6 separate regions of the Homo sapiens genome follow, and all the other regions are linked to region 2. Evidence: promoter capture Hi-C in 16 types of primary human blood cells and fetal thymus (Javierre and others, 2016). All regions are on one chromosome and are shown on one strand. Each heading gives the region's core, a stretch centred on a gene start or on the middle of the fragment in contact. The rest is flanking DNA. Distances are from core to core; before and after follow the strand shown.

Region 1 (4,311 bases), core at 1,342-3,841, 540 kb before region 2:
CATGAATTCAAAGGTCAAGGATATAATGAACTGTGTATGCCACTGCCAAGCAACACTCTGGATCTTGAAGATGATTTTGGAGATGGTGGTACCACCTCTTTAGCCAGTAAACAAACAAGCTTCCATTATCTATCAGCATGATACTTGAATTATGGGAGTTTTAAATTATGAAAAATGTTAAGGAATACATCCTTTATATAAAACATAACCACTTTTAGTTTTGTATATTTGGAAGATGAGGAAAGGTAGAGTTCAATGAAAGGTTGGGTGATAGAAGATAATTGTTTGGAAGAGAGGAGTAACAAGGGAAGAACTATTTCTGTGAGATTTAACTAGCTTCTTAATGAAGATTGATTGAAAGAGGAATAAAACTAGATTCAAAGACATTCAAAAGAAAGCAAGTGGAAAAATCTCGATGAGACATGTAAAAATATTTGAGTATTGACTGGATATTGGACAATATTAATGAATTAGTTAATTTTAAGGTGTGATAATTATGTTATGCTTATGATTTTTTAAAATTTAGGTGAGAGATAATAAGGGTCTGAATTCAGAGAGCAATAAGTGGCAGGGGAGGCAGTGTCTTCTTGCTCTGACTTTATTTTAAAAACCCTCAGAGCGCTGCAGTGATCTATAATCACACCACTGCACTCCAGTCTGGGTGACAGAGCAAGACTCTGCGTCAAAAACACATGACAACAATGCTCAGAGCAGGCTGGGAATGAGTAACGGCACCAAAAACCCATCCGTGCTTTGTCTCCAGAATTTGGCCAGACTGCCATCTTCTTTTCCCTTCTTTTATGCTACAACACTCTTGGTTTCTTGATTTGCCAGCACCTATCCCAACTCAGCCCTTGTTTGTGGTCCAAACATTGCTTCAATCTGCTCCTCCAGGACATGATTTCTGTGATTTGTCCCACTGTTTCACATACTGCAAATGTAACCCATCCCTCATGGGTGGATTTGACCCATCCAGATAAGGGGGGAGTAGAATCCTGTTGACAGGGAGAGGAAGTTGTCAAGATTGGCTCTGCTGAACATAAAACTCCCCTGTTCTCAGAATCCCCCAAATCAACTTAAGCTCTTATTTTTCCTACATTTCCCACATAACTCTTCACTTGAGTAGCTCCATTCCCAGATTAAAAAGATAGAATCCAAGGAATCTTCAAAAGAAAAAATGTTATCTCTTTCCATAGTCTATCATTGCTGTCAATAACAGTGAGAAATAGAGTTACAATAGAAAGCATAAGAAGAGGTTCAGTGTAGGGCGGGCGCGGTGGCTCATGCCTGTAATCCCAGCACTTTGGGAGGCCAAGGCAGGTGGATCACTTGAGGTCAGGAGTTCGAGACCAGCCTGGCCAACATGGTAAAACCCCATCTCTACTAAAAATGCAAAAATTAGCCAGGTATGGTAGCATGCACCTGTAGTCCCAGTTACTCTGGAGGTTGAGGCAGGAGGATTGTCACTGCCCTCCAGCCTGGGCAACAGAATGAGACTCTGTCACACAAAAATAATAATAATAATAATAATAATTCACTGTAATATCATTTTCTGTAAGAATATAGTTGTGGGTGCAGGTGTATAAATAAACACAACTTGCCACTGAAATTAAGAAAAGATTTAGCTAAATTTTAGGGACTTTTTGGACTAAGAAACCTGAAAAAGCTGAAGCTTTGAATCCTAACTATAAAATAAACACGACTTTGGCAACTTTTACTCTCTTTTGCCAAAGAAAGGCCATTTCAGTGAGATGAGTGCTGCCTACAACAATGTTACTAGCTCAAGGCCTTGTGTTTAGCTGATACTTGATCTGCAGGTATGCATTTTATTGAAAAACATTACGTAGGAACATCTAAAATGGAAACTGATTGATGAAAGTCAAGAAACTGAAGAACTGATAGCCTATTCTTATTGCCTTGATGAGATACAGTGTTACAGGGTCCTGCTCCAACAGGCCATCATTAGTTGTCCTTTCATAGACTAAACCTATTTTGTGGTTTGCCAATTCTTAACCAAACCCTGTCTGCAGCAGGGCTTCAATCATTACTTCTCTCCTGCCATCAAAAGGCTTTGAGAGAAGTGTTGGAAGGGGAGTTGTTTGGGTTTTAGTATCTTAATAGTAACTTCCTCAAAGCATAGTGTCACATACTTTTTTCTGTACATATCACTCCCAAGTATGCCTCTTATGTCTAAGTGAATCTATCTTGTAGCAAGTATTTTCTGGGTGTAAATATTGTCTTCTGAATGCAAGCTTTCTTAAGAAAACAGACTGTTCTCAAAAGTAGGTCTCAAGGTTGACCTTACTGTTCCTTCCTTTGTGGCTTAAAGACAAGCATTCCATATCTACACACTATCAGGGTGAATAAGTTTTGTTTGTGTGCACTGAGGATTCTTTTTTCAATATGATCAAAATAATTTTAATAAAAATATTGTTATACAGTCTAACTTATTCCATAGTTTGAATATAACCCTCCCTATGGTTAAAAAAAACCCCAACACCCTATTTGCTTTACCTTATCTTTATAGATAGCATATTATGCTTGAAGGTTCTGAAGAAGACCTTCAAGTCTTGATTGAGTGAGTTTTTGTCCCTAGAATTTTGGTGATTTTAAGAATCCTCACTAAGATGACTCAGGATGGCTACCTATTTCATGCTTCATTGAATATAATCACTTCAGCTTTGAAACTCATCTGAGGATTGTTCTGTCATCAGATTTTTCTTTTAAAGTAATCTTTCTTCATTTTTAGTGTGGTGTGATGGCTTCAGTTTTTAAGTGTTCTCTAGTCAATCACTATCAAAGAGAATAGCTACTTTCCCCATTTGCTATTTTAAGACTTTATCCTGAATTTCCGGATTTCTGAATCTATGAAGAAGGTTGTGCATGAAAGAAAACAAAGAAACTTAGGGGTGGTTTGAAGACAAGCTTTAATTTCCACAGTGCTACTCCTCAAATACCCAGAATCCTTATCAGGTTTCCTTAAGCCAATTTGAGTGGACAAAAAAATATAAAAAGAGTTATTTATTCATATATTACTAAAGATGAGACCCTTTCGGTTCTTAGGAAACACCCCTCTCAATTCTAGAAATAAACTCTGAGAAAAGTTGGTTAATTTCACAAATATTTAAGCATTTGATTAAGATAGGTAGAGAGGCCCTGAGAATCAGTGGAATCAACTGTTACAAAGTTTCCATTTTTCATGTATTTGAAACAGCTCTGATGTGGAGCTTGAAAGTGGTAATGCAAGATTAGAAATGAAGAACAAAATACTATATACAGCACAGTAGGTGGAAGGAGAGGAAGGGATGTTATAGAAACACGATAAAGCCTAGGCTCCTCCCAAACAGAAAGAGGAAACCTGTTTTTGTAAACAGGTACCTTCCAGCTTTGCTCTGGGTTAAACCAATTAGTTTTATGCCTGGATACATATGCACACATGTATTGTACACATTCATGTTTAGGTCAAAAAGTCTGTTTAACCTTCTAAAACTCAATTCTTTTTCCAATAAGAGCATTATCTGTTTGGGTATTAGAAAATGGAGCGGTGGATGGAGATGGGTATTATTAGAAACCTAGACTTAATCTAACAAACCCGGCAATTTTAAGAGATTGGGATGGTAGTAGCCACAATCAGGCAAAATGAGATCATAAATGTACAAATGTATGTACATATGTATATGTATGCATATATTTGTTCACTAGGTATTTGCTTAGTACCTAGCACAAAACTATAGAAAATGTGAAAAATACTAAATCAGTTTTTGTTTCTCAAAGAATCTAAGGTTGTTTTTGGGTAATACATGGATGAAGTTATTTTATTTTAATATTTATGCTTACTCTATTGTACTGTACATTGGAAAATATATATAACACATTGTAGTGGGCTGAATGGTGACCCTCAAAAACACTCGTCTACACCTCAATTCCCAGAGTCTTTTTGGAAAAAGTATCTTTGCAGATGTAATTAAAGATCTTGAAGAGATCCTGCTGGATTATCTGGGTGGGCCCTAAATTCAATGACTAGTGTCCTTATAAGAGACATACAGAGGAATAACGCACAGAGCCACAGAGGAGAAGGTAATGTGAAGATGCAGGCTGACAGTGGGGTGATGGGGCTACAAGCCAAAGAATACCTATATGTACCAGAAGCTGGAAGAGGTAAGGAAAAGTTTCTTCACTAAAGCCTTCAGAGGCAGCATGACCCTGACAATAACTTGATTTCAGATTTCTGGCCTCCAGAACAGTGAGAGAACACATTTCTCTTGTTTTAACCCACCTAGTTTGTGGTAGTTTGTTTCAGCAATTCTAGGA
Region 2 (3,936 bases), core at 491-2,990:
ACAAGGAGAAGAGAGTCAGACAGACCACACAGAAGGCTCCTGCAATAGTCCAGAAAAGATGGTGTATATATGTCACAAAGTTCCTGAATATCAACTTCTTACCTTTACCTTCATGGTTTTGACGTATCTAACACGTCTTACCTTTTTCTTCATGGCTGTATTTGGTAGCACCCACCTGCAGATATAAACCAAAAAACAGTTTCCATGATCCAATTCCCTTAGAAATTGAAATTAATGAAGTATAAATAAACATGGAGGTACAAAAGAGCATGTTTAGTACAACGGCTGAGTACAGCTGTGTGTGTGGGACCTCAGATGAATAGAGGTCCCATTTTCCTAAATTATAAAACTGTGTGTATACTCTCTATCTCCTAATTAGAAGTTCAAGAGAGAACTCCTAGGAAGATTTATTTAGGAATACAAATGAGCCATTAAAATTCAAGATTCAATTTTTCATCATCTTAATCAAAGCAACACAGCTGCTTTAATCAAACAATATCTTCTATTTCTAAAAAAACAGAATATATTGATATCCTCTACTTGAGGACTGAGTATTGAATATCTTCTATGTATAAAAAACATTCAGCCTCCTAATTTTAAAATCTGGAAGTATCTTTTTAGTCCTTCAGCTGTCCTTCCAAGCCCTATTTCACTCATCACAGACACAAAGTAGATGTAAGTCTCAAATTCAGGTACAAATTGGCACAGAAAACACCCTCAAGCTCTGACCTGGAAATGCAAATCTTCTTTCTAGTCTTTCCATCCCCAACCTGGTGACAGCAAATCTCCTTTACTGATAATTCAAAGCAACTCATAACTGCTTTAATTAGAACACTCCCCCAGCACCACCACCAGGAATATCAGCCCCTTCCCAAGGGTTGTTTCTGATCAGTTAGCACCAATTCGCTTTCCAGTTTATCCTGTCGTCCAAAGCATAATCCCAATCAACATTACTGGTAAATCAAAGCAATTTATCATGGTGCGGGGTGGGGAGAAGTGTTCTAATTCACAATACTCTCTTCAATTTGAACACCCCCACTTCCAGGTTTCACAAATACCCTTCACCCACCCAAGCGATCCTTCCGGTTCCCCTAGTGGTGGATCCATTCTCGGCCCCAGATTTTCTTTCTCCGTCGTTTTCTCAGAGTCAGATTCTTCCATTGCGCAACAAGTCCTTTCCAGTCCCTTCTAAATCTTCAGTACTCTTCAGGGTTTGTTGTTGTTGTTTGTTTGTTTTCTTTTTCACCCCTCAACTGCCTATTCTCATCGCCTATGGCCCTCAGGCCTGCTCTATTCTTGCCTCCGCCTTTGTCCACTGGGGGGCCGCTTTCCCCACGGTTACCTTTATCTCTCGAACCTGGCCTCAAGGCACGGCCGAGCTGGCTAGCTTTAAGGCCAAGTGATTCCGTGGTACAAAGTAAGAGTTGGAGAATGACAGGAAAAGAGAGGTGGGTTAGGGGTTCGTCCCGAGTTTGGGCCTCAGGCCCCCAAGGTCTGGAAACCCAAAGGTAACTTCACCCGCAAAGAGGTGAGGACCGCGAAGGCGGAGGTGGCAGAAAGAGCTGACCCATGCCGTAGGCACTAAGCGGAGAACGCCTCAGCTGGCTCGTGGCTTCCGAGCCCGGCCGCTCGGAGAGTCAGCCGGCGGGGGCAGTAGTTACGACCTAACCACCCGCCCTTCAGGAACCCAGGTATCTCACCGCAGCCACCCAACTGCAGGCCAGGATCACGTGGGCATCTGCCTTACCCCGGAGTCTGTCACGTGACTGCCGCTACCAAAGGGACGGGTGGGCTGGGAAGAATACCATAGAGACAGCTCCAGGAAAGCCAGAGTGCCGTCTGTCATCATCACGTGGCCTTGGCTCAGGCTCCGCCCCTCGGGCGGGGTAGGGCGCTGGGAGCCTTCAGCCTCTCTAATGTGGGTGGGCCTGGCCCCACCCATCCGCTATGGAGAATTAAAGGAGCCGGTTGCAATTTCAGTGCCTCTGAGCTTCTCTTTTTTACTGCTGGTTACCGGTAATGGTTTTTGACTGGGAAGACCGAGCATTGTCTTTGCCTTCCTGCTTTTTATTGTTAATTCTTGCAATCGAGTTTGTAATTAAATGATTAATACATCCAAAGCGCTTAGAACTGTGTCTTCCACATAGCAAATACTGTATAAATTATCGTTATTGCTGAAACCAGGGATTCATCAGGAATTTTAACACACACATTCATCTTCCCACTTGTTTAAAACAGGAAGTGAAGGAAGTACCATAGTAAGAAGTCAATAAATAAAGTCTAGGGCTGGGAGTGGTGGGTCATGCCTTTAATCCCAGCACTTTGGGAGGCTGGGGAGGGAGGATCACTTGAGGCCAGGAGTTCAAGACCAACCTGGCCAACATAGCGAGACCCCATCTGTAAATAAGTGAAGTCTAGAATTGAGAACAGAAAGACTACTGGTAGGGATATGCACACCAGGAAAAATGCCCAGAGGGGTTCAAAGATGTTCCTTCTGGAGAATGGGGTAGGGGATAGGACGTGATATGTCAGGGGACTATTATTTTTTATCTGAAGCCCTTCTGTGCTATATATATTTCTATAATGTATAAATGATATATAATAATAAGATTAATATGACATTTAATTATATTTAATATAATCAACTAATACTTAAATAATATGTTATAAATATGTTATTTTAAATAAATGTGTAGTTTAATTATATTATTTATAATTAATATATGATATACTACATGTATTATTTACACGTAAGTGTGTACATATATTACTTTGATAAGAAAAAAAGGGAAGGAAGGAAGAGAAACTGCAGGAAACAGAGTACTATTATTGAAACTGCCTTTGCAAAAACTGTAACTGAGGAAATTATGACAGTGAAAGAGATCAGACCTCACCGACTCCATCTTACATCTAACCTTTAAGGTGTCCTTGTTCATTCCTGGGCGTAGGCCGAACTAACCTTGGGAAGGAATTTAGTTTATAGTTTAACTCTGATACAAAATTGATAATAGCCCTTTCTCCCTCCCGCTGCCCCCCACTAAAAAAAAACAAAAAAACAAAAAAACCTTCTTACCTGGGAACCAGTCGGCCTTTGCAGGACTAACAAATTAGCCACAAGATTACAAGATTAGAAATTACAATTCAGGGGCCATGCAGCCTCCAGCTGCAAGAGTCTGAACCTCCCCAAATTGCTCCCAGGAATAACATCACTGTTTTAAAACCTAAGATCACTGTTTGATATGTTTTGCAGACCCTGCATTCAGATGCACCAGCTTATGATACAGGAGCGGGGCAGGAAAGTGCTGGGCAGAGAAAGGCGGGTCCGTGGCTAGGGCTCCACCCTGGGGCCTGTGCCCATGGACCTAGGTGAGGATAGGCACTCCTGCCTTCCCACCCAAATGTTATATTCACCCCTAGAGGTTGCCATGGGGTCGGAGCCCCACAGCCTGCCCCTCTGCATGCTCCCCCTAGAGGTTGTGAAGCAGTGAGCCACTCCCGCTGTGGCATGCCCTGCAAGGGGGATAGGGGAACTTCCCTCGTTTCACTTACAGCACCCAGACCAGTAATCTGGCCCAGCCAGTTCTGCGATCCCACCCAGGAACAGAAGATAGCAAGAAAAACTCACTTAGAGCCCCCTATGATTCCATATCCAACTTGACCAGTCAACACTCCCCACTTCCCAAGCCCCTACCCACCAAATTATTGTTAAAAATTTCAATCCCCCGAAACTGATTTGAGTAATAAAACTGCAGTCTCACCCACAGCTGGCTCTGCATGAATTACTCTTTCTCCATTGCAATTCCCCTGTCTTGATAAATCAGCTCTGTCTAGGCAGCAGGCAAGGTGAACCCGTTGGGCAGTTACACTGTCTGCTCCCACACTTTCCACTTGAGGTCCTGTGTGATTCCTTTTCTCCACAACTGCCTTGCCTCAAGA
Region 3 (4,187 bases), core at 677-3,176, 580 kb after region 2:
TCACTCCCATGGAGAAGCAAGCTTAATTTTGTCATCTCACATGCTAGTTAACAAATATGGTAGATGCCTTTTCTCAGTTTTTTTTCTTTCAGTTCTCAACAGCATGGAGCCCTATTCACCACCACTCCTGGAAGCTTTCTCCTTCCCTTCCCTTCTCTGATCTTCTGCCTTACTACTTTTTCTCTTGTCTCTTTGAGTGCACAATGGAATTCTTTCCAAGCTGTTCCTCTTTGCCACACCCCCACTGCAATGGGCTGAATGTTTGTGTCCCCTCAAAATTCATGTATTGAAACTCTGATCCCAATGTGATGGTATTAGGAGGTGGGGCCTTTAGGAAGTGCTTAGGTCATGAGAGTAGAGCCCTCATGAACAAAATTAAAGCCCTTATAAGAAGTCAGAGAGCTATCCACCACCTAGGAGTACAGCAAGAAGCCAGCAGTCTGCAAGTCTAAGGGGGGCCTCATAGAACCCTGATCTCAGACTTACAGCCTCCAGAACTGTGAGAAATATGTTTCTATTGTTTATAAGCCACCAGCCTATGGTACTTTGTTATAGCAGGCAGCCAAACTAAGACACACACCCTATCAAATATTTCTTGAATTCAGTACTTAAGCCTCTACTCATTTTAGTCTATCCTCTCTGCCTCAGGATTCTCTTTCCTCAAACATTACTTCTAAGCACATGACTACTAGATGTCTATTGTTGTCCTCACCACTGCCTTAAATTCCAGATATGCATTCCCTTCTCCATGCTGAACATTTGCTCCAGTAAGTTTCTCTGTCAACTCATTATCAGTATAACTAAATCAAAATTCATCAAGACTACCCAAAATGTGCTTACATTCCTTCATATCTCAATGCATCCCACTACCATGTCCCTAGATATTCTAGGCCCTCCTTGACCTTCCAATTGTTCCTTGGATGTCTCTTCCCTATAATTTTTCAGTTACTACTTCCAGGTCTCAAATTTAGATCACAATCATCTCACGTTTAGATTAATCCAATAATATTCTAGGGGTGGTTTTCTTTCTCTGTCTCCTCTTGTCTTTCCTTTCTTTGCTGCCAGATTAACCTGATGCAGATGCCTTTTGGGTCATATTTTTGGTCAGTTCTAAAAGGGCCCCACTACTTTATATCTTACTTGGTGGTCAAGGCTTTCCTGGCCCCAGTGAACCCCTTCAGCTGTATTTCCCATTACCCTCTTTCTTCCAGAAACACTTACATCAAAACATGAACTGAAAGATATCAGGCTTCCCTTTATTTTGCAAATTGCACAAAGACTTTTATACCATAAATGTGACACCACTGACACTGCATAATCTTGCCTCAATCCATCCATTCATTTGTCTGTCCATCTCTCTGTCTATGGATGCATGAAACTATGATTCCATCCACATACCTATCCAAGAAATGTTTGGAGAGTGTCTATAGGCCATGAACTAAACCAAAGTGCACACCCTATTAAAAGCTCCAATATCATCCTGTGAGGCAGGGCAAGGGATCCCCTGAAGGGACCTTCCTCCTAATTTCAAAACTGGTCCTCTGTTGTCTCTTCTGAGCCCAGTCACCTACTTTGGAGATTCTGTGACATGTTTTCACCACGACCTACCTCGTCAAGAAAAGCTGTCATATACAACCATGTTTTCATGCATCTTTCTGGATGCTGGAGCATGGAGTTCTCCCCACTGCCAATACCAAACACTACAAAATCCCCAAATGATTTAAGTACTATATATCCACTTAAGTGATGCTTCTCAACTCACATGCATCCTGGAACAGGAAGTACAACATCTAAACCCTTGTTTGAAGTTGTACAGTTTTTTTTATGTCAAATCTTCATATCTTGGTTAAACCTCCCTCTCTGTTGTAAAACCGTGTCTCCATCCATTCCTTCATATGATTTGTCTGTAAGTATTTATTCAACACCCAATTACCTGCCTTCTGATTTGTCTGGACCATGTTAGAGACCCATGGGACTTCATTTTGCTAAAATCAAAACCAAGTATACTTAATTTGCGAGGTCATGTTACCAATTACCTGCCTTCTGATTTGTCTGGACCATGTTAGAGACCCATGGGACTTCATTTTGCTAAAAACAAAACCAAGTATACTTAATTTGCGAGGTCATGTATGCCATGGTAAAAATGAAGCTCTCCATTTCTCTCTCATAAAGATTGTGCTGGGTGCCCACTGGGGCATGAGGATCAAGAAGACCTGTAATAAAGCTGTTGCTCACAAGCAGAGCCTGTGGGTCTGATACAAAGGAGCCTGAGGTTCCAGTATTACTGGGCACAAAACTGTCTTGGTCTGTGTTTCCCTTCTGAAAAGACAGATGGTCAATTTCCACTCTGTGGAAATCTTGGGCATGTGGCTAATGTTCTAAATATATAAAAATGCAACCCATGCCTTGGACTCTCTCCATCTGTGATAGGCATAGGAGTCCCAACCAAGATACTTCTTTGTGTGGGAGCCAAGTAAGACCACTAGAATCTCCCACTGGAGTCCTCCATGTAGGTTCTTGCAAGATGCTCTGACCCATAGGGTCACTAGCAGGATGTGTGGTTGCTGGGATAATTTCTAGTTCTTCATCCTTGTCCCAAGGCAGCTCTTCCTATATGGGAGAAAATGCCCATATGAGGTGGCTCTTCTTTCTTGAAATAGATTTTTCCAATCAAGTTATTTGGTTTCCATCTGAAAGTCTGTCAAAAGAGCAGGAAACACCAAGCTGTGGTGTTGTGAGAAGATTATCCTGTTGGCCATCTCTATGCTTAACAGTGTCCCAGAACGGCTGCAAGGTCCTTATGCAGAAAGCTCGCACTAGACTTGTTCTGTCCCCTGGAGAGTGGCCTCATTTCCATCTATCCTTGGCATATGAGAACATACCATATTGGAAGCCTAAAGTATATTCATTCACCTATGTTGGACATGTTTGAAAACATGGCTACCACATGTCTCTGTCTCCTGAACACCTGTGCTGAATAATGGAACCAATCTCAGGGACTGAAGGGACAAAAATATTGGGGAAACCAACCAGAGAAAGGGCCTGACAAGCCCATTACTACATTGTGTATGTGTGTGTGAGTGTGCGTGTGTGTGTGAGTGCGTGTGTGTGCGCGTGTGTGTGTGAGAGAAAGAGGCAGCATTAATGAGAGAGAGAGAGAGAGACAGTTCTGATCATTATGCAGGAATCTAGGGGCCATTTCTGAGAGTGTATATTGATAAGTAATAGATAAGAGCTCAAATCAAATGGCACTTACCAATGTCCAGAATGTCATATCCTGAACAAAAACCAAAGAAATACTCAGGGCCAGGAGGGAAGATGACAGCAGGGCCACGAAGCAGGGCTGAGACTTTTGGTGGAGTGTTAGTGCAAGTTGAATTGAACTCAACTATGATTGGAAAACTGCAAGAAGTTTCACAGACTGATCTATCTGAATAAAGGAGCTGGCCATGCCTTTTTCTTCTCCAGGTGTCCTACATAAAAAAACAACCTACTGAAATAACTTATTTCTCTGGATTTCAGGTTCTACCTTTCTGCATTACATTAAGCTAGTTAATATAACCATCACCTCAAATATTTAACATTTTTGTTGTTCAAACAAAATTAGAAATTTACTCTTAGTGATATTAAAAAGTACAGAATGCAATCATTAGTTATATTCGACATAATCATTAGTTATATTCGACATACTGTGCAATTGATCTAAAATCAAGCTTATTCCTCCTGTCTAATTGAGGCTTTGTACCCTTTGACTATTGTGGCCCTATTTCTCCAACCCACCAGCCTTTGGTAACTACCATTCTACTTTCTGCTTCTATGAGTTCAACTGTTTTAGATTATACATATAAGTGAGAACATGGAGTATTTGTCTTTATGTGTTTAGCTTATGTCACATAGCATAATGTCCTCCTATTTTATCCATGTTGTCTGAAGTTGACAGAACGTCCTCATTTCTGAAGGATTAATAGCATACCATTGTGTAGATATACATCACATTTTCTTTATCCATGTATTCCAAGATTCGCTAGCATCACAACTGCCATAGGTCTGTACATGGGCCACTCCCTCCTGGGGCTTCTAGATAGAATGGCTGGCCTTCTTTCCAAATAACACGGTCGTCAATCAGCTCATCCACCCACCCAAAAATTACTTATGAGTGCTTTCTATGACTGAACACTTAAAACCCA
Region 4 (3,687 bases), core at 506-3,005, 520 kb before region 2:
TTGTAAGAATCAATTGACAAAACAGATTTAAAGGTATTATAGAAACATAATCTCAGATGCCTAGAACCAGTCCCCTTGCCTTGAATCTCCATTGAACAAATATATTTATGTTTAGACAATAATTAATCTTATATGCAATAAGCAGATAAAACTCTTACTATTAAAGAAGGCCATGTGAAACAATGGGAAAATCATTTAACTAGGATCTGGGAGACTTGTATTCTAGATCAGGCTTCACTGTTGTCTAGCAGTGTCATTTTGAGTAAACTACTTAGTCCTTTTCAGATCCCTTCCAGTTTATAACATTCTATGATATATGATTTTATTACAAGGACATAGATGGAAAATCCATAATAATCATCTCAGGTTTCTGCTTAACCTGTGAGATTGATGTCAAGAAGGATTAAGTTTTCTACAAACCATCAGGTAAACTTGAGTCTCATTCCAATGGCATTTAAAAAATTACTATGAATGACTGGGTGCGGTGGCTCATGCCTGTAGTCCTAGCACTTTGGGAGGCCAAGGCGGGTGGATCACTTGAAGTCAGGAGTTTGAGACCAGCCTGACCAACATGGTGAAATGCCATCTCTACTAAAAAATACAAAAATTAGCCAGGTGTGGTGGCACATGCCTGTAGTCCCAGCCACTTGGTAGGCTGAGGCACGAGTCACTTTAACTCAGGAGGTGGAAGTTGCAGTGAACTGAGATCATGCCATTGCACTCCACTCTGCATGAAAGAGCGAGGCTCCATCTCAAAAAAAAATTATGGGTGATTTTAAATGCATACAAAAGTAGACAAAAACCCCATGCGCCTACTCTCAGATTCAATGATTTTCAGCTAATGGTAAACCTTGTTTCATCTGTACCTCAACCCACTCCCCCTACCTCAATGTATATTTTTATGCAAATCCCAGATATATCATTTCATGGCATTTCTTTTTTTAATTTTAAAGTTTGAGGTACATGTGCAGGACGTGCAGGTTTGTTACATAGGTAAACGTGTGCCACACTTCATGGCATTTCTAATGGGACATATTTAATTTTCACAATTGCCCTGTGAGGTAGGTATTACTGTTGATCCCACTATACACATGAAGAAATAGAGTCAATGGGATTAAATAATCCCAAGGTCACATAAACTGGTAAATTATTGAGCTGGGATTGGAATCCAGGTATGATGTTTGATACCAAAGCTCTTTTTTTTTCCTTAAAGTACTTGCTACTACCCTGTACTTTGAAATAGTTTGTTAGAGTTGAAAATAATAATAATGAAGGTGTTTTTATATCTTTGCAGCAAACTCTAATATTGAATATATGTACAGAGTATTAAAAGATTCCCACTAATTATTATGTTAATTATAAAACAAAACCTCTAGGAATTACAACTCCAGCATGGCACTAAGGGACAAAGAGCCACAGCAGCAAAAACTCATTGCTCTGAATCATTATGTAACATCTCATGTGATCCTCTTCATTACTTCATACCTTTATTTCATGCAACAATCTCCTCCAATAAATTAAACATGGTGGTAGTGTGGCAACCACAAATAATTTGTAACAATACAATTGGTCCTCATCCATGTTTTGTGCAACAGGTACTTAAGGGAAGAGACCTTGGCTCTTGAATAACTTTTCTACTCACTGCCTGAGCAGTGGCTCAGGAGCACCAAGACAAGGCATCCTAGAAGAGTCTTGGACCATTTCAGTTTGTAGAGCTCCAGAAAGTGAGGTTAATGCAGTAGCCAATTCAACGCTACACATCTATTCTAGGATCTAGCTACAAAATTAAGGAATAAGTATGTTATTATTCTTTTAGCACCAACTGTTATGTATATTTATCAGAACTAGTTTAACAAACAAGAAATAAATATATTCACATCACATCCCCGCCCATTCTAACTGAAGATGAAACAACCGCATCATTGAACGTATAGGAAGAAACAAGAGATGGAATAATTAGCTCCAAATAATCAAACTTAAATATATGCTCAGCATCATGTAGACCTTTCTGAAGATACTGTACTTTATTTGTGATGTACAATATTTCAAGAAAAATGGCAAATAGAAGAGAAATGCAGAAAAAAATGAAAGAAACTAGAGAAATAACCAATTTTTTTAAAAGAAAACAAAATGGAGCTAGATCAAGAAATGTAGATGATTACATCTGGCAAAAAGGGGGACAGGGAAAAAGAAAGCTGGCCTGATAATTGTCTTCAAAGGCACATTTAGGTATTTGGAGAAAGTAGAACTACTATGTCATTTACAGGACATCATGGTTAACTTAAAGGGGAACTTTCTGATGATAATCAAGTCTTTACCAAGACCCTACTAAATAGTCAACACTGTAGTAGATATTATGTGGGAAGGAGGGAGGAGGTAATACCAGAAGGAAGAAAACTTCATGGTCTCTGGCCTCTATCCTCAGTAAATTTGCAGTCTAGGTCAGATAGAGAAAACTGGCAGCCCACTGCAGATGTTGGCCTGGTTCTCATAGTGATGTTAAAGATTAAAACAGAAACATCTAACAACCTTTCAAATGCAGATTTCATGTTTTAAGAAAAAAATCCTATTTCTTGCTTTTCTAAAAAAGCTGAGAGATTTTATAATACAGAGTGTACATTGGCACAAGGGAAAAATTAGCTGGAGATGATCAACAGCTGTCCCCTTTAGACAGGGCATGCTTTTCTCATTTTACTGGGCCCTGGAGATTTAAGTTTGAGATCCCAGGTCCGTGTGATGAGAAACAATTATGCATAAAATAATAGCAATCAAATATTACAAGATAATAGATGCTGCATTGCTGGATTATGATTTGAGGCTATGAGCAATAATTGGGAGAGGAGGAGATTACTGAGAATGGAATAGTCAGAGAAAATTTCAAATAAATGGTTTGCTTTGAGGTGGGCTTTGAAGAACTACGACAGTCAAGAAGAAACAGAAAGGAAATCCAGACGAGAGGAAAAGTAAACTGCATACTCCATGAAGGCAAGGGTCCCACCTAAACTGATAGTTTACCTAACCTAAAGTGGTAAGTTTACCACTATCACCTCAGCTTCTAGCATGATGCTTCCAACTTTGTAGACACCCAGTAAATGACTGTGGAGTGAAGGAGAGTAACATAATTTTTAAAAGTGTTTTAAGGAATATATCCTTGCAGTGGTCCTCAGAGTAGAGAGGGCAGAAAGAATCAAAGTAGAACTAGAAGCTATTGGAATATTCTATGAGTACTGCGGTAAGAGCTTACATAGGTGCCATAATCTCAATATCTAGACTAGGGGTCAGACAGGTTAAGGCCACCTAGGCCAGATGAGTAATGTGGTGAACAAAAAATACAAGTACTGTTTTAAAGGGGAGGGAGGGAGAGGCTCATCAACTCTAGGCAATTATTGCCAAGAGAGAATGCTGGTTCAGTATCTTCTGATTAGTCAAAAGAAACTGGAATTGAAGAATTTTTGTTTTCTTTTGAGACGGAGTTTCACTCTTGTTGCCCAAGCTGGAGTGCAATGGTGTGATCTCGGCTCACTGCAACCTCCGCCTCCCAGGTCCAATCGATTCTCCTGTCTCAGGTTCCTGAGTAGCTGGGATTACAGGCATGCACCACCACACCCGGCTAATTTTGTATTTTTAATATAGATGGGGTTTTACCATGTTGGTCAAGCTGGTTTCGAACTGCTGACAGGTGATCCT
Region 5 (4,226 bases), core at 826-3,325, 560 kb after region 2:
ATCTCTGCCTTTTTCTCTTCCCTACTGTATAGAGTAGGAAAAGATTTTGTGCCCTAATGCTACAATTCCAAGGGGGCAGCAGAAATAAGACAAATGAGAGAAAAACAGAACTAGGAGGCCCCAAATACATTTAAAATTAGAGGTCTATGAATCCTGTTATTTTTCAGCTGATAGGAAATCTCCCCTTGTCAGGTTATCATTTTAAGTAATATCAATTCAGATGACAACTGGGGCATTTTTGTTTTTTTGAGACAGTCTCACTGGGTCACCCAGGCTGGAGGTGCAGTGGCACGATCTCGGCTCACTGCACCCCCACCTCCCGGGTTCAAGCGATTCTGGTGCTTCAGCCTCCGGAATAGCTGGGATTACAGGCATGCACCACCATGGCCGGCTAGTTTTCGTATTTTTAGTAGAGGTGGGGTTTTTCCATGTTGGCCGGGCTGTTCTCGAACTCCTGGCCTCAAGTGATCCGCCCGCCTCGGCCTCCCAAAGTGCTGGGATTACAGGCATCAGCCACCACGCCCCGGCTTTGGTGAAATTTTTTGAAGAACATTTTCTCTTAGGTTCTTAGTAGTTTGGAGTCATTCTCATCACGTTTGATCACATAAATTCTAAGAGACAGAACTACTTTGGGAAACATTTTTGGGGATGAAATCGTTGTTGAACAATGTAATGGTCATCAGATGTGGTTTTAAACCCTATGGCAAAATGGGAACCTTCTGAAATTAGCTTCTACTTAAAGATACATTCAAAATGGAGGAACAAGCTTTTTCAAAGATGGCCTAATCTATTTTGTACATTTTAAGAAGCCGTGTTCATGGAGCATACTAAACATCCCAAGCACTTTCATATTGCAATTGAATCTTACAATCTCAGTTGTTTTAATGAATTGAATATGTCCACATGTTTTTCTGCAGGTGAGGATTACCTATCAGTCTTTTTTTTTTCATTTTTGTTTGTTCAAATCCCATTTACTGAATTGAAACAAGGTGAGTTGTATAGATTTTTAAATAGTTGTATAGATTCTATTATAAATTTAATTTTTGAGCTGGAAAATAACTTACAACTCAGTGTCTGTTCTAACTTCATCTTAGGAGGGAAACTAAGCTACAAAAAGCATTGATTATTTACCCCATCAGCACAGAGAAGTTAACACATGAATATCATTACCTTGCTAATTTGGAAAGTGGTTGTAATTCAACAACCTAATTAATTTTGTATTTTACAATTCATAAGATTCCACAATGTTTCTAGTATTAGAGAATGTGTACACGTCATTTTAAATGCCTTGGAACTTTGGGAGCACATATTTTAAGTGCCCTCTGATGGATTTGGTTAGGATCATCTGTTTTACTTACTCAAGTTTCTACAGGTGCCTTTGAATAAGCATCATATTATTATTCCAGGGATAGACTATGTATTAGGAGTGAATGTTTTGTTGTGGAGGTTCACATAAAGGAAAAGCTGTAAGGCATGGAGGGATGGAATTGAGAGGAAAGCTAGGGCTTGAAAGAAAGTAAAATACTGGGCCAGGCGCAGTGGCTCACGCCTGTAATCCCAGCACTTTGGGAGGCCAAGGCGGGTGGATCATGAGGTCAGGAGTTCAAGACTAGCCTGGCCAATATGGTGAAACCCCACCTCTACTAAAGAAATACAAAAATTAGCCAGGCTTGGTGGCGCGCACCTGTAGTCCCAGCTACTCGGGAGGCTGAGGCAGGAGAATCGCTTGAACCCGGGAGGCGGAGGTTTCAGTGAGCCAAGATCGTGCCACTGCACTCTAGCACTCTAGCCTGGGTGACAGAGTGCGACTTCCTCTCAAAAAAAAAAAAAAAAAAAAGAAGAAGAAGAAAGTAAAATACTGGGTTCATCTGCTTTTATCATTAAAAAGTGTTATATAATTTTATATCATGAATACATGCATGAATTTCTGCTCTGTTTTTGTGAAGATATTCTGTAACTAATATTCCTCCTCATCTCCTCAGTTCTATTTATCCTTCATTAGCCTGCTAAGGTTCTCTTTTCACTCCCTAACTAATCTTGTGTCTAGTTTATTTTTCTCTCAAGTACTGTGTCTTTTCCCTCTCTTTTAAATCCAAACTGTAATCTGCATTCACTCCCTTTTGTTTCTCACCTCCATTCGTGCTCAGTAAACCTTAGCTCCTCCATCCCCTCCCTATTCCTTTGCTGTAACATGTCAGGAAACATCTGAGACTTCCTAAATTGCATTACCAAATATTTACTGAGCACCTACCATTTGCCAATCATTGTCCTGGGTGCCTGGCATCAACTTAGTGTCTCTGTCATTTCCTCAATGATTCCTTTCTATTCTACCTCTGCGTGTATCAAATATATCCCTTTCTTTACATTTCCACCATCCTAATTCAGGCTTGCATTGCCTCTTGCTTGATACATTGCAAAATTTCCCAGTGATTTTTGTGGTCTCATCCACCCCCTATTTCATTCATCCATTAAAATGCTCTTCCTAAATATACATCTGAGCATTTATCTTATGCTCAAATACCTGTTTGTACAGACTTCTTAGAGTAACATTCAAGGCCCCTGATAACCTAGCCGTATCTTCTCTTGCATATTTTAGCTCTCACTAACTCTTCTCTGGGAGATACCAGCCACATCATCTGTGGCTTTGTCTCCTCAAGAACTCTTCTTCAGCTTGCTTGTGCTCTTATTGCTCTCTCCATTTGTCACACCCTTCCTATTAATATTCTCTGTATCTTTGAAGGCCTAGCTCAGATGCATTTCATTTTAAGAAGCCTCCTCTATTTCCCCAGTCAGCATTCATTGCTACATTCTTGTCATTGCAATAGCTTGATGCTGTCATTCTCAGAGTACTGTATGCTTCTTGATTAGGCTCAAGAATTACCTGTTGAATCCCTAAGTAGCCCAGGCAAAGTGCCTTCTTATACATTGTATAATAGACATGCGAATATTTGTTTAGATACTGCTTGGGCATCAGAACAATCTGTGCCTACTTGACAGCCTCTCAGAGGTTGGGCCCCAGCATATGCACACGAGTCAAAGTGTTAGAAAACCACACGGTGATTTTGATGCCTATTCTGAAACAGAATGTATTATAGCAAATCCCTGCTGGCCTCAAAGTTTCTTTGGTTACAGGTAAGTATGCAGATTTCTTTATGGCCCAAACTAACCTAAATCCTGCTTTTTCACACAGACCTGGACCCCAGGAGTTTTGTAAAGTGCCTTTGTGAATTTTGCATAATGAGATCCCCTTCTTTAGAGTCTTCATAAATATAATTTTATTTTGCTATGTGTGTGAATTTGCAAGGGCTCTATTCTTCATTTGCCTTGCACAGATATCAAGCATTAAACCTATATTGAAAATTCAGACAAAAAAGAATAAGCTTTGTAACTGTCAGATAGTATAAGCATTCTGGTAAGACATTTGTATGAGGATTCAGGAGGATGGTGAAGATGTTTTATATATTATGAGCCTTTCCAAATACTAAAGTGCTTAAAATCTCATTTATTCTCTGATAAAAGAATTTGCACTTTGGGAGGCTGAGGCAGGAGGATCCCTTGAGCCCAGGAGTTCAAGGCCACAGTGAGCTGCAATTGCATCACAGCAATCCAGCCTGGGTGATGGAGCAAGAGCTTGTCTCTAAAAAAATAATAAAATAAAGTGTATTAAGGTTAATGCTTCTGTACTAAGATAGCAGTTTCAAGTGTCAAAACCATACACCATCAAAAGCAAATTTTCCTCTTAATCATTCTGATAAACGGTCCATTAAGTGGGATCTCACATGAAACAGATTCACAAGGTAAGTGTGACAAAGCCCAGGTTGCATAATATAGGCTATGTTTATTAAATAAACAGCATTATTAGCCTAGAAAATGCTAGTGTATATGACTTTGTAGATGCTCTTTACTAGGCTAAAGGAGGTTAAACCCTCTTCCCAAAATCTCGGTTATGGAATCACAGTGCTTTTTAAGTCTTTGCTTTGAAGTCAGAAGTAACTGAATCCATAAGCAGGAGATTTTACTTGGTTTTGTAGTAGCATTCTTTAGTTTGCCTACTTAAAATGTTTCTTTTTCACAAAAGAAATATATTTGTAGTGGATGAGTTAGAAAGTGAAGATACAGGACGGGCGCGGTGGCTCATGCCTGTAACCCCAGCACTTTGGGAGGCCGAGGCGGACAGATCACAAGGTCAGGAGATCAAGACCATCCTGGCTAACATGGTGAAACCC
Region 6 (4,299 bases), core at 1-2,500, 850 kb before region 2:
TCGTGCTGGTAGTTGCAGAACTCTGGGTAGCTGGCGGTGGTGCCCATGGATTGGGTAGTGGATCGCGATTTTCTGTGCGGGAAGGCTGCGTACCTTCCCCAGAGGAGGAACTACTCCCCACGGAGGCAAATGGATTACCCCCAAACTGCTCTTGTGCGGCATTCAGCATCGGCTCTTGAATGTCAGTGTACATGCGCCGTAAAGCATTATAGCCACCTGGGATGCTTTCTAGATTGCTAAGAGCCAGGTCTTGATTTCTCATCATCTCTTGCATCATGGCTGGATTCCTGGCAATTTCGAGTGTCTGCCTCATTATGTCTGGGTTGTTGAGCAGGTGACTGATTTCTGGGTTTCTCTGAATCAATTGCTGCATCTGTGGATTAGCCATAATGAGCTGCCTCATCAGATCGGGATTCGAAAGCATGCTCTGAACAAAGGGATTTTCCATTATTTGGATCATCATCTCAGGGCTGGCCATAAGCTGCTGCTGCATCTGGCTCTGGAGCTCAGAGAAGTTGGTCGAGCTCAAGCCCAGGCTGCTAAGGCCTGCAAGTCCTCCCAGGCTCCCCAACCCAAACGGGTTGCTATTTGTGGAAATAGGTGTGGAGTTACTCCTGGGAGTCGACGCCGAGGTAGTGTTAGTTCCCGCGGCATTGCTAGGCTGCGTGGACTGGCCCTGAGGTCGGTTCTGGCTTTTGATGACAAGGTGAACAGTCAGCCCATCATGGATGCCATGCTGGATCAAGGTATCTTGATCTTTTAAGATTTTTCCGGCAAAAATCAGCACTAGCTGATCGGTTTGGGATTTGAAGCGTTTCGAAATCGCTTCCTTAAACTGCTGAACCGAGCTGTTCTCGGGCACCGCGAACTCCTCTTTCTCTTTGGGAGTCTTCACCGTGACTTTGATGATTTTAGGCTCAGCCGGGGCAGCAGCCGAGCCTTGGGCCGCAGCAGGGCCGCGGGAGGGGCGCGGGGGGCCGCTGCTCTCGCCATTCTCAGCCATGGCGGCCGCGGTGACGCAGGCGGGCAGGGAAGGCGCGGGCGGGCGAAAGAGAGAGCGCGAGGGAAGGAGGAAGGAAGGAGGCACCGCCGCAGCGGGCTGGGCCGGGTCAGGCGGGGAGCGCGGAGCACGGTACCTCTGTGATGAAGACTGCGGTTCCCTGGTCCTCCGGTGGAGAAAGGCCTGGGCGTAGGCCGCTGGCTGAGGTCTCCGCGCTCCGGTCTCTGGGCCTCCTCCGCCGCCGCCTTGTGATCCGACCGCGCGCACTCCCAGCAACTCTGGCAGCCGCTCCGCCTGCTGATCCCCGCCCCTTCCCCTCCCCCAGTTCCGCGCTCGCCTCCCCGCCCCCTCTGCTGACGCGGCGCCAGGCCTAGATTGATAGATTTGGCTCGGTCAAAATTAAAAACTTCTGCACTGAAAAGAAAAAAGGGAGAGAGAGAAACAAAGGGAGAGAGAGAAGAGAACAGAACAGTACAGAGCAGGCGAGGCAGAGAGGGTGAGACGGAGAGAAGGAGGCGGTAGAGAGTCAGCTTCTGTAAACGACATTAAAAGACCAATGGAGAATGTATATTAGCAATCTGTAAGGCAGTAAAAGGGTGAAAGCCTGAATCGAACAGATCCCACGTATAAGACGAAAAATGAATAATAAAGAACTCTGACAAAGCAAAAAGAAAAGAGGAACACCTCCAGTAGGGGAAGGGAAGAAGACAGAGCAGGAGCGTGCATTTTACAAAAGGAGTGCAAATGGCCAATAGACATTAAAAAAGGATGATTAATTTCACTACTAATAAAAAGAAATCAAGTTAAAACAATAAAATTCTACTTTTGGCTTATCATATTGGCAGGGAAAAAAATAATGGTAAACCTTCTTGTTGACAGGGACCCTAAAAAATGCCCTCTCAGGCTAGCTGAAGTGTGAATTGTTACAACCATAGGGCAATTTGAAAATATATATCAGCATTTTGAATGTTTCCACCTTTATTTAGAAATGCCTAACCTAGACACTTCGCCTAATAATCGGATGAGGATGCAAAAATATTTATGTATAAAATGTATATACATTGTAGCATTTTAAAATGTTATTTAAATATATTAACTATCTGTTTACATGAGATTAGTTGAGCACATTATCATATTACCATACAAGAAAATATAGAGTGTCTTTAAAGGTATACATGAAATAAACTGTAGTTATAGGGAAATCACAGAGTATTTTCAATTATGCCTTTGTATATTTCTGTACAGTTACAAACTATATAAGAATATATGTTCCAATATCAAAAATACAATAAATATATTTTTATTTTAAAAGCAATTTTTGAACAGTTTGTTGTATATGTAAACCGTATGTGTAAAAAAATCTGGAAGGCTATGCACAAATAAGTTAATGGCTGTTAGTACTGTTTGCTGAAATTATGAATAATTCTTATTTTCTATTTTCATAAGATTTTGAATTTTCTGATGATTTTTGTAAGTATGCACTACAGAAAGGTATTTTGGGGAAGAGTATGGGTAGAAATTGACAGGCACATAATAGTAGTGGCAAACATTGACATATTTACCTAATTTAATTACAGATTAAGTAAGAGCAATAAAGATGTAGCAATGCTGAGAAAGAGAACTTGAAAAATAGAAGAAATAATTTCAAATTTATCTATATATTTCTAACTCTAGGTTAAACCACACAGAAAATTCTTCCCCAACCCCCACCCTCTACCAAGCATCCACCAAAGCACCACTGCTTTCAACATTTAACAGCATTTCAAAGTCATTAGGTCACAAATACTTTAATAAATCTGAAGATAAGAAAAATATATATATACAGGTATGTTATATCCATCGATGGAGAAATGGAAGAATTAATATTATTTTACCTCTCTATTTTATTAATATAATTAATAAAATACAGAGGTAAAAAGATGACTAGCTTTAAATATGTTAATATGTATAGATCTAAAAAGCCAAATTAATTAGTATTAGGTTGATGCAAAAGTAATTGCGGTTTTTGCCATTGAAAGTAACGAATTGTTACTATTATACAATGGTTTTTGCCATTGAAAGTAATAGCAAAAACCGCAATTACTTTTGCACCAACCTAATACATGCCAAACAGCACTCTAATACATTCTTATGTATATTTGAAATATTCTTTTAGAAATATACCAAACTTGCACCCATGAGGAAGAGGAAATGGAATAGGATACAGGATAGTGAGTAAAGGGAACTTAAATATGTAAAAATGCTTTTTATCTTTAAAATGAAAGCAAATATGATAAAATATCAGCAATAGTTAATTATGGGTGGTGAGAATATGAAAATATTATAGGTAATCTTTAATTTCCATAGAATAAAGCTAGATATTAATAATCAAAGTATGAACAAAAAACCAACCATTTGATTATTAAAACATAACTGAATACTTTTGGGGCAAAGTGCAATGTTCTTATTAGAATAAATTTACAAAAATAATGATAATGAGAGCATATACAGCAATACTAATGCTAGGATTTTTCTACGTGTGATCTGAGAACATTGTTAAGAATGCATGTTTCTAGGCCCCACGCCAAACCTACTGAAATAAGTGGTGCACTGGAAGCTGCATTTGTATCAAGGTCCAGTTTAATATTATTTCATTTATTAAGTACTATGTGGATGAACTCAGAGTCAAATTTATACATTCAAAGACTTAAAATATCAAACAACAGATTGAAAATAAGGGAAGTAGGCATTCGAATAAAGAAGGCAACGGAAAATAAAAGGAGGGAAGTGAGGTGACAGCTATAGAATGATAAAAGCAAATATTAATGAATTAACAAACAGAAAAAATAAAATTTGTTAAGTAAATCTAAGAAAGTATTTGAAGAATCAAGTCAAATACACAAATCTTTATTAATTGGCGATTGTCTTGGCTGACAATTCCCTCACCAAAATACACATCAGAGGGGCAAAACCATACTCACCCTCTTGAGGAAACCTTCCAGAAACACACTTCTTTGCATTATCTTTCTTTACCTTAAAAATTATGTGATTGTGATTTTTTGACATTTTACTTCAAAATATATTACTTTTAATGTTTTAAGTTACAATGAAATAAAATTAACATTTTAGTAGTAGAACATACGTATCCTCATTAGGGAAAAGGACAGCATTAATTAGCTGAAACAAAGAAAGCACCAAGAAAAATATACGAACTAGTATTGTGTGAATACATTTAGTCACAGATGAAGGAGATTTTTTTTTTAATAAAAAAGAAATACGTTGTAAAAAGATTGGCTAATGACAAAAAAAAAAAAAAAAAG

The links. The method cuts DNA at HindIII sites, captures the fragments that hold promoters and counts their contacts. A CHiCAGO score of 5 or more calls a contact.
Region 1: a fragment that was not itself captured here is called in contact with the fragment with the promoter of RRAGB in region 2 in 1 of 17 cell types (naive B cells); the score reaches 7.7 in naive B cells.
Region 3: a fragment that was not itself captured here is called in contact with the fragment with the promoter of RRAGB in region 2 in 2 of 17 cell types (megakaryocytes and non-activated CD4 T cells); the score reaches 6.8 in megakaryocytes.
Region 4: a contact is called between a fragment that was not itself captured here and the fragment with the promoter of RRAGB in region 2, in 1 of 17 cell types (total B cells). The highest score is 6.2, in total B cells.
Region 5: a fragment that was not itself captured here is called in contact with the fragment with the promoter of RRAGB in region 2 in 1 of 17 cell types (monocytes); the score reaches 7.6 in monocytes.
Region 6: a contact is called between the fragment with the promoter of UBQLN2 here and the fragment with the promoter of RRAGB in region 2, in 3 of 17 cell types (fetal thymus, neutrophils and monocytes). The highest score is 8.7, in fetal thymus.

What each region holds. Positions count from the first base shown.
Region 1 is chrX:56,259,877-56,264,187 of GRCh38, reverse strand. The region is part of intron 2 of KLF8 (KLF transcription factor 8); the gene reads right to left. Among named protein-coding and RNA genes, the nearest start is that of KLF8, 30 kb to the right of the region's middle. The HindIII fragment of the contact is 673 bases long and covers 2,255-2,927 here.
Region 2 is chrX:55,715,553-55,719,488 of GRCh38, reverse strand. It overlaps RRAGB (Ras related GTP binding B), which reads right to left and starts at 1,740. Exons shown (of 10, transcript NM_006064.5): 1 at 1,070-1,740; 2 at 142-175. The coding sequence starts at 1,161. RefSeq lists enhancers at 1,122-1,251, 1,412-1,611. The HindIII fragment of the contact is 6,209 bases long and covers 1-3,936 here.
Region 3 is chrX:55,130,765-55,134,951 of GRCh38, reverse strand. No RefSeq gene overlaps it. Among named protein-coding and RNA genes, the nearest start is that of VCF2, 28 kb to the left of the region's middle. The HindIII fragment of the contact is 3,579 bases long and covers 137-3,715 here.
Region 4 is chrX:56,238,253-56,241,939 of GRCh38, reverse strand. The region is part of intron 1 of KLF8 (KLF transcription factor 8); the gene reads right to left. Among named protein-coding and RNA genes, the nearest start is that of KLF8, 7.7 kb to the right of the region's middle. The HindIII fragment of the contact is 6,018 bases long and covers 1-3,687 here.
Region 5 is chrX:55,153,553-55,157,778 of GRCh38, reverse strand. All of the region lies in intron 2 of VCF2 (VCP nuclear cofactor family member 2), which reads left to right. Among named protein-coding and RNA genes, the nearest start is that of VCF2, 5.5 kb to the left of the region's middle. The HindIII fragment of the contact is 2,614 bases long and covers 769-3,382 here.
Region 6 is chrX:56,560,578-56,564,876 of GRCh38, reverse strand. UBQLN2 (ubiquilin 2) reads right to left here and starts at 1,250. Exons shown (of 1, transcript NM_013444.4): 1 at 1-1,250. The coding sequence starts at 1,003. RefSeq lists enhancers at 254-313, 324-523, 920-1,547. The HindIII fragment of the contact is 11,191 bases long and covers 1-4,299 here.